Linked DNA regions of Homo sapiens: region 2 is linked to region 1. Evidence: promoter capture Hi-C in human tissues and cell types (Jung and others, 2019). All regions are on one chromosome and are shown on one strand. Each heading gives the region's core, a stretch centred on a gene start or on the middle of the fragment in contact. The rest is flanking DNA. Distances are from core to core; before and after follow the strand shown.

Evidence for each region. Contacts are between HindIII fragments. The study calls those that stand out against the background at their distance.
Region 2: a contact is called between a fragment that was not itself captured here and the fragment with the promoter of CCKBR in region 1, in 1 of the 25 tissues and cell types used here (spleen).

The regions. Positions count from the first base shown.
Region 1 is chr11:6,257,359-6,262,064 of GRCh38, forward strand. It overlaps CCKBR (cholecystokinin B receptor), which reads left to right and starts at 2,480. Exons shown (of 5, transcript NM_176875.4): 1 at 2,480-2,721. The coding sequence starts at 2,571. The HindIII fragment of the contact is 2,957 bases long and covers 664-3,620 here.
Region 2 is chr11:6,442,105-6,446,810 of GRCh38, forward strand. No RefSeq gene overlaps it. Among named protein-coding and RNA genes, the nearest start is that of HPX, 3.5 kb to the left of the region's middle. RefSeq lists an enhancer at 1,251-1,320. The HindIII fragment of the contact is 3,476 bases long and covers 1,163-4,638 here.

The DNA of each region.
Region 1 (4,706 bases), core at 1,230-3,729:
GTGGTGGCCCATTTAGGAGGTTAGGAGTGTGGTTCAAGAGTAGGGTAATATCAGTGGACATATAAGCAGGCAGATTCAAGGAACACTCAGTAGCTAAAATGAACAGGACTTTGTGATTGATTCAATATGGGAGTGATGTAGTTATGTTCCCCAGGAAGCAGACTCTCAAACAAAGATTACTGTGGAGGATGTTTACTAAGGAGCGTTCTTGGAGTTAACACCTGTGCAAGAGAGAGGATGAAAATAGGATTGGGCAAAAGGAGAAGCTGAGTAGTAATTCAGTCCCAGCAAAGACCTCAGTCAACCATATGAAGGGTTCTAGGGGTGTGAGCATCTTTCAGAGTTGTCCACCACTGGGTTGAGGGGATTAAACTTTTATACCTCTGTGCTGATCGGTCATTGGATATAGAATGCCCAAGAAAGGGAGCATAACCTTGGATGAGCTGGCTTTCTTCTGCTTAGGCAACTCCTGAAGGGTTATGACAGCTGAGGGCCATCTTTTAGGAGCACTCTCCACAGCTGGAAAATAAATCCTCCATTTTTGAAGAGGGTTCTGGGCTTTGCATCACAGCATCCAGCGCAGGGGTGAAGGAGCATAGGGGAGTAAGGCATCAATAATAATTCCTAAATTTCTGATTTGTACATCCTGGTGGGTGCACTTAACGACCATATATTACAATCATTGGCTTGCTTGGGAAAATCCCACTAGAGTAGGTGCTACTGAGGGGCAAACTATATTGGACAACTAGTGCATACCCCTAGAACTGGCATAGTTTGCTAAATAAGTGAATGTCCATCTATTTCTATTTTCACTCCCCTCTCCCTTACATCCTTTGCTCCCTTCCCTCCTCATCGTACTGTCATCCAATGTGGGAAAACTTGAGCAGGTTATCTGAGGCCCCACCTGTGCTGGAGCGGAACAAATAGCAAATCAAGCTCCTCTGGTCCAGGCTCTCTGATGGGCAAGACAGGCAGTACCAGGAGGAAGGAAAGGGGGAGCAGTTGATGACATCTCAGGCATAAACTGTCTTTCAACTCTCTTTCAATGCTTCAGCCCCTATAAACTCAGGGCTGGCTGAACCAGGTCCTCTCCAAAAGATTAATTGGATAAGGGCCTGCTGAATCCCCCATAAAGCCAGACTCCATTCTCTAATTTGCTCTTCCACTGATGCCCGCCCCCAACCTCTTACAGCTACTGCTGGGGGTCAGAAGAATTTCACATCGTATTGGAGTTCATCCGGAATCTGAAGAATGGATAGGAATCTGGAGATAGGAATCTGGAGATAGGAATCTGGGGAAGAAAAGGAATGGATAGGAGAATGCATAGGGAGCAGGGCTGAAATAGTAGAAGAGGCAAATCCTGCCCCGAGAAGCTGAACCCAGTTCAGTCCTGCACCCTTCAGCCCTGTTCCCGCTGCACCGCAGTGACCCAGTCCCCTTCTAGCCCCCTCTCGTGGGAACCTGACACCCTACACAGGCAGCTCTGCCTGCACTGAGAGCAAACAGGGAGCGTTAGCGTGTCGGGTGGGCGTGGGCGCTGCCTGGAGACGGTGGAGAAAGCCAACCTTCTCCTTCTCTTTTGCCTGCGCTGGGCCGGCGTTAGAATTATATCCCATCCTCACCTTACTCTGGTTTATCCTTGTCAGTGCTTGCCACCACCCCCAACTGCCCTCAACACTCAAGTCAGAAGCTTCCTCCCGGGAGCCCTTTTCCCTGGCAAGGCTTCCCTGGAGCCAAATCTCGGCCCCGGCCCCACCCCCACTCCCGCCCAGCTGTGGAGGGCTCCTTGGGACCCTTAAGTGCAAGCCTGAGTGTTAAGCCTCAGACAGGAGATGGAGGGTGCGGAGACAGATGCAGGAGCTACCCCAGGCCCGCAGCGAGGAGCTGCAGGGAACTACGGTAGCAATAGTGTCACGGTCACTGCGGCCACTGCAACACAGTACGGTAAATGCGGCTCTAGGCTCAGACTAAAGCATCCGCGCCTCAGCAGGTGACGCACGCAGACCTGGTCTCCAACGCCACCTCCACGTTCCCTGATACACCAGAGAAAGATGCTGGATCCGTGGCAGCCGTCTCTACCCAACCCCTCCTACCCTCCCTTCCCCGAAACCTCCCCCTACGCTGCCAATACTCTTGTCTTCAATCTCTCTCTCTCTCTCTCTCTCTCTCTCTCTCTCTCTCTCTCTCTCTCATTCCTGGGAATCGGGGGTGGGGGCGGGTGATAAAGAGAGGTGGGCAGGAGAGAAATCTCTAAGAGGAGACGGGACACATCTAGGGAGGGGGCGAGCCTGGAGGACAGTCGCACAGGGAGGGGCAGAACTCCCGAGCCAGGGAGGGGGTGCACAGTCACCTGGCGGGACAGAGGCTGGCGGAGGGACGGGAACCCAGGCGGGGCGAGCCGCGGGAGAGTGGAGGGCAGGCGCCTGGGCTGGGGGCGGGGACCAGGCGGGGCAGGGGGCAGGGAGAGGAGGGCGGCGGGAGCCTGAGCCGGAATCGCAGCGTGAGCAGGTGGAGCCGCGTTGGGAGCCCGCCGGGTCGAGCTGAGTAAGGCGGCGGGCTCGGCGGGGGCCATGGAGCTGCTAAAGCTGAACCGGAGCGTGCAGGGAACCGGACCCGGGCCGGGGGCTTCCCTGTGCCGCCCGGGGGCGCCTCTCCTCAACAGCAGCAGTGTGGGCAACCTCAGCTGCGAGCCCCCTCGCATTCGCGGAGCCGGGACACGAGGTGGGTGCCTCCCTCAGCCCCCCCCACAAGCTATTTCTCACTGTACCCCAGAACACTAATAGAGTCCCCCCAACGAGCTCCACACTACCTTCTCAAACGTCCACACCGTGCCTCTCATAGTACTCCCTCAGCCCCCAAACAGCTCCCCTCACACCTTCACCCCCACAGCCTACAACTTCATCACAGCTTCACACCACCTGGTCGGAACTCCTTCACATCCTGGTCCCCTGAATACACCTAGAGCCCCTGCTCACCCCAAAGCACAGCCCCTTCCCCAACACGCAGCCCCTCCTAGACACCAGTCAGAAGGCGAGGACCTCCTCTTGCCAACCCTGCAGATCTCCTTTTCCCTCTTACATCCAGTTCACAGAGCCACAACAGAGAAGGGAAGGAAGAAAGGAAGGCAGGACTGGGAAAAGAAGGGGGCTGGTTGAGGGAGGGAGCACTCTGGAAAGCTTGAATGCGAAGCTGAAGTTGTGATCACATCTGACACCCCAGCCCCCAGCCATCCCAAAAAAGATCCTCAAATCTGAATTAGGCTGGACACTAGGGGATGCTCCTTAGAGCTGCCTGCCTCCATTTCACTCCTTCTCAAACCCCTCTGCCTCCCTAGTTGGAGCTTTCGAGGCTCTGTGCCCTCTCTCTTTGTCTGCAAGTAATGTCTCCAGCTATCTTCCAAGCTCTCTCTCCAGCCCTAGGCTAGGTGCTGGGGGCACAGGGCAAACTAGACCCAGTCTGGACCCTCATGGCCCATAGCCAAGTGCAGAGAGAAACCAAGCAAATGGAAAAATCACAGACACAATGGAAGTCCCATGAAAGGGTCTAAACTGTGGGCACCAAAAGAACTTCACAGAGGCTAGAACCTTAGAGCTGGGTCTTGAAGTTGAGTAGGCAGAAAAGGAAGGAGTGGGATTCTAGGTGAAGGAGCAATGTTAAGCAGAAGGAAATTTTTCTAAACTCAAAAAGGGAAAGTTGGAATAAATTGTAATCCAAGTATTTATTTACCCCACGAAATAATCTATGCTTTCTCAGCCGAGTTGTTACACACTCACACTTGGATTCTGTCATTCAGCCAATATTTATTGAACCAGAGATTGTGCTAGGCAGTGGGAATGTAAGTTGAACAAAACCGACACAATTCCTACTTCACAGAGCTCAAAGTTTAATGGGCGAGACAGAAAAGCAGGGGATTGCAGCACAAAGTGGAAGAGCCTTGACAGGGAAAAGATAGTGGGAACACAAGTGGAACACCTCTAGCCCAGCCCAGCCTCCTTGAGAATTAAAGTTGGCCTCTTGAGGAAATGAGCTACAAAGTCAAAAAAATTAGGGAGGCTGGCTCTAAGCTTCCTGTTGGCAAAAAAAAAAAAAAAAAAAAATATATATACACACACACACACACACACACACACACACACACACATATACATATGGGAGAGCCAGCCAAGTGAACGGGCAGAAGAGGCAGAAAGCATCCCAAATAAAAGGACAAGATGTATAAGAAGCTCAAAGTTTGAATTCATGGCACTTTTATCCACTGTGACATAGTTTTGAGTGACTAGAACATATATCTTAAGAAGGGAATAATGAACAGGCTGGAGACCAGCCTAGAGGGTTTGCAGAGAGCCTGCTAGGCCTGACCATGGAACATGGACTTTCTCCCGAGGGCAATAGGAACTACTAAAAGATTCGGTAGTACTACCAGGATTAGTTCTATAATGTGGAGAACGGATTGGAAGACATAAGATGGAAGGCAGGGGGATACTTTACAAGGTTACTATATTACACTGTTCTGGGTGAAAGATGATGCTAGCTGAGACTAAGGTAATGGCAAGGGAGATGGAGAGAGGTGGATAGATTTGAGAGCCTCTTCTGGAAATGGAATCAACAGATTAGAAGCAGAGAGGATGGAAGAGGTCAAGGGATGACATTCAGATTTCTAACTTGGACAACTGAATGGATATTGGTGCTATAGCAATTGTATACAA
Region 2 (4,706 bases), core at 1,651-4,150, 190 kb after region 1:
CAGCCAAATTTCTGACAATTTCCCCCCCTCTAGGGTAGGAGAATATTAGGAATTGGGGGTAGGTTATGGTAGTAGGCATAATGAGATCTAGGAGTCACAGACGCCCTTTATCTGACAGTCCTGTTTCTCTCTCCAGTGTCTCGGCCCCACATCCATCTCTTCCTGGGATCTCACCTGCTATCCTCAGTACTTCCTGGGCCCACTCCCAAAGCTGCCCCATTTCTGTGTGAGATTTGCCTAGTGAGTCAGAAAAGAATTATGGGCAGACTCAGCTATGGGCCAGGATGAAGTTCCAGGACCCCTGCTCCCTAGCCAAGGCTGAAAGGGCCCTGATCCCTCACAGATGGCTCCAGACCCCTGACAGTCCCATATATAATCTTACCAAAAGTCTCAGATCCCTTTTCTACTCTGCGAAGTTTCCTTCCAACAGGAAAACACACATTCCGGAACCTCTGGAACAACATGTCACCAGGCCTCTGCCATCAGGCTCAATGTCCTCTCCTGACTTACGAATGAAAATGTGCTGTGAACATCATTCCCTCCTCATAGGTCAGTGGGCAAGGCTGGACTCTCTGAGTCCTTGGCAGCCTGGGCAATGCCATCGCTGCTACAGCCAATGTCTCATACTCACCTTCTCCCCATTGCAGGGCATGTCTTCTTTCTGGGTGTTGGGCAATGGGAGCCACTATTCTAAGACTCCCCCTCACCTTTTCTTTCCCTCTCAGCCTCTGAAACCTTATATTCTCCCTCCTGAGCACCCCATGATCCTCCATCAGGAATTTCCTCAACAACTTGTCTTCAGCTGTCAGAACCCTGTCTGAATCCTACAGATTTTGCTGGGCCTGCCTGGGGAGAGGGAAGCTTTCACCCCAAGAAACAAACACCCCACAGAAAACCCATAGTGAGAGTCTTCAATAGTCCTATTAGCAGGGCCTTGCACTGACTTGCCAGTCCAAGGGTGCAGTCTCCTTCTGGCCTAACAGGGCTGTCTGAGGGCATACAGCACATATACTGGATGATCATTTTTCAGCTTGACCCCTTCCCCACACACCTGGTGTGGTCCCCCTCACAGCACCCCGGATCCATCTATCCCAGAATACTACTTTATGGTCCCTTTTCCCTGTTGCTTCCTAATTCACCTGTGTACCCGAGAATGGCTTAGAAACCATTACTGGATCCTCCTGCTCCACCCAGGGACTAGGCCAGCAGAGTCATCTGCACTGCAGGCAGTCCAGGTTGAAGTTCAAGTTTTGGGCAGGAGTTGAAAGTAGAACATTGTACACATTTGGGAACCCAGGGCTGTGGATATGTTGGCCACCCTGGTGTTGGTCACAGGGTACAAGCCAAGACTTCTCAGGGTAGTCAAGACTCAGCAGCCTTGCTTCTCTTCCCCTCACTACAGGAGGCCCCTTCTGTGGGTCCTGGGTCCTTCCCAGGCTTCCTACTGGGGCTGAGGAAAGAAGCTTGTCGGTACTTGGGCCTGAGCACCCCCTGCAGGCCGCAGGAATCAGTGCACTCCCGCCCTTCAACTAGAGGCCAGAGCCCAGGAGTTTTTCCTCTCTGAAACTAGCTCTCCACAGCCTTTGTCCCACACTCCTCTCAGCCCTGGCTGTGCATCCTTAGTGGTACACACCCTTCTATGCTTCTTTCCCTTCTTCTGCAAACCTTGCTGCCCAGAGTGGATTTGGGGACCTCAATCTCTTGCTTCTCTGGGAACTCGAGCCCAGAGAAATTCAACCATCTCTTTTCCTGGGTAGTCTTCTCTATCCTCCTAACCAGCAGCTTTTTTACTTCTCCCAGAAGGGGTCTGAACACGAACCTGCAAATGTCTGCAAATGACAGAGCTTCCTCCTGCATTGCCAAGAGCCAGATGTAAGCTGGACACTGACCCACTGTCCCTTGGAATGGCTATGTCTATGTCCAGCCTGCTCTGCTGTTGATATGAGTTCTCTGACCTTAGCCATTTCTCCTGGGCCCACTGAGTGCTAGGTGTGCTGGGCCTGAAGTCTGTGGCTGTATACTCCAGGGAGCAGGAACTGAATGTCTCCTTTCCTCAGGGGTAGGAGGCTTAGGGATAAAGCTCCAGGCAGCCAAAGAGCTTGCTGATCCCAGCTGACCCCTCCTCTTGCTCAGTCTATAATGGGCCTTAGTGCTATATATATATATATATAGCATGTATATAGCACTTGCTATGGTTTGAATGTTTCTGTCCCCTCCGAATTGATGTGTTGGAAGCTTAATTCCCAATGTGCCAGTGTTTGGAGGTGCGGCCTCATGAGAGGTGTTTAGGTCATGAGAGCTCTGCCCGATGAATGGATTAATGCTGCTATAAAAAGGGCTTTCAGAAGTGGATTCTCTCTCCTCTGCTTTTCTGCCACGTGATGAACAGCATTTGTCTCCTCTAGAGGATGCAGCGTTCAAAATGCCATCATAGAAGCAGAGACCAGGACCTCACCACACACCAAACCTGCTGGGCACCTTAATCTTGGACTTCCCAGCCTCCAGAACTGTGAGAAATACATTTTTGTTCATTATAAATCATCAGTCATGGGCATTTTGTTATAGCAGCACAAACAGACAAAGGTAGCACTATGAGTCCCGTTTTATGAATGAGGAAGCCAATATTAGGTATCTTAGCCAAATCACATTGCTAGCAAGTGGCAGAGCCATGATTTAAACCCTGGGTGCCTGACTCCTAGGGGTGTGTTCCTACAAGGATAGTGTGTTCTTATCAAGGGGTTCGCTGGCAAATATTTAACAACTGCTCTCTAGGGGGAAAAAGCACTGATTTGTAACATTTGCAGATTTTTGTGATATAAATACTCCTACCATGGCCAACTTTAAGCTACCGACAAGACATCACCAAATGTAGAGTTGGGAAGGGATGTACAGTAACACACTGCATACAATATTCCTACCATACAGATATGATAGATATAAATAATCACAAGAGCACAGGGGATAGTAAAATGTAGTAAAATAATTAGGAAGTGATTACTTTTAAGTACTGATTATCTTTGGTTTTAATAGAATGTATTTAAGTTTATATAGTTTGATTTTTAATAATAGCTGTGTTTTAACAACCAGCTCTCAAAATTCTAAATTTGACAATCAGCTCTCATGAGCCAGCTCCAGCACCCCACAGTCTACCATGCTGCCTTTGTGTACAGGACAAGGATCCTACCTGCTTTAGTCACTGCTATATCTTCAGCACTGAGAACACGCCTGAAATACTGTATGTATTTAATAAATATTGAATCCTATTATTCCTACTTCCTAATTATACATAAAATCTGTCCATTTCTCTCTGCCTCTTTAGTAATGCAAACACCACCTTTTCTTGTGTGACCATTGAAATAGCTCCTCTACAACACATTCTTTATAACAACCACAGTGATCTTTAAAAACGTATCTGAGATCACCTTATGCTCCTGCTTAAAATTTTTTCTTGAAGTCAGTTGTAATTTTTTTTTTTTTTCTTTTTTTTTTGAGACAGAGTCTCACTCTGTCACCCAGGCTGGAGTGCAGTGGCGCGATCTCGGCTCACTGCAACCTCCGTCTCCTGGGTTCAAGTGATTCTCCTGCCTCAGCCTCTCGATTAGCTGGGACTACAGGCGCCTGCCACCACACCTGGCTCATTTTTTGCATTTTTAGTAGAAACAGGGTTTCACCGTGTTAGCCAGGATGGTCTTAATCTCCTGACCTTGTGATCTGTCCACCTTGGCCTCCCAAATGCTGGGATTACAGGCGGGAGCCACTGCACCTGGCCGAAGTCAGTTGTAATTCTAATGTATACACAGTCTTCAAGAGGAACAGTTTAGAGAAGTTGAATTGTTTTCTGATTTTCTTTCTCAATTCTCTTCCTACCCCACAGAATCACTGCCCAGTTTAAAGTTTGTTTCACAGGGCATCCCTTTCATCCTTATCACTTAAACTTTTCAGTGGCTTACTGTCATACTCCAGACCAAATCCAAGCTCTTTATCTTAGTTAAATGATCGAAGTCAGGCCTAATTCTCCAAACTTGTTCCTTTCCTCTCTCCTTCCACCCTCCTTCCTCTCCAGTCACCCTGGCCTCCTTTCAGATTCTCAAACACATCAAGATCTCAACCCCTCAGGATGTTTGTACCTGTTTTTCCTTTGTCTGAAAATCTCTATCTCCTTTTCTTAACACAGCTAGTTCCCTACCCACCCTGCTCCAACCCTACAGGTCACTGCTTAAAGAGACTTTCCTTGTCCACTCTATTTAACACTATATTGTCTATCATTGTATTCTGTTCATTTCCTTCACAGCTTGAACTCAAATTGTTATTACACATTTAGTTCCTTGTTGCTTACTTGTCTCCCTTCTCCACTAGACTATAAGCTTAATAAGGGCAGGGACCATTTCTCTGTATTCCCAGGGCCCATTACTCTGTCTAATATTAAGTGCTCAACAAATACTTGTTCAATAAATAAATGAACCCGCAGACCACAAATGGCCATAGGGCTGTTCTGGTCACCAGACAGCCCTATATGAGCAAAGTGTGAACCCTTGCAGGACCACAAAATAACATTCTGACAGCAGGGGCTTTGCTGTGACCCCCAAATCTGTGACAATCATTCCAGACTTGGCCTCCACTGTCAGGCACTACTTTCATCTACTTGGCCCCAAGGCCTGAATTGGAAAGAAAATGCCCACCACGGCTGGATTTAGAAGGAACAGAAT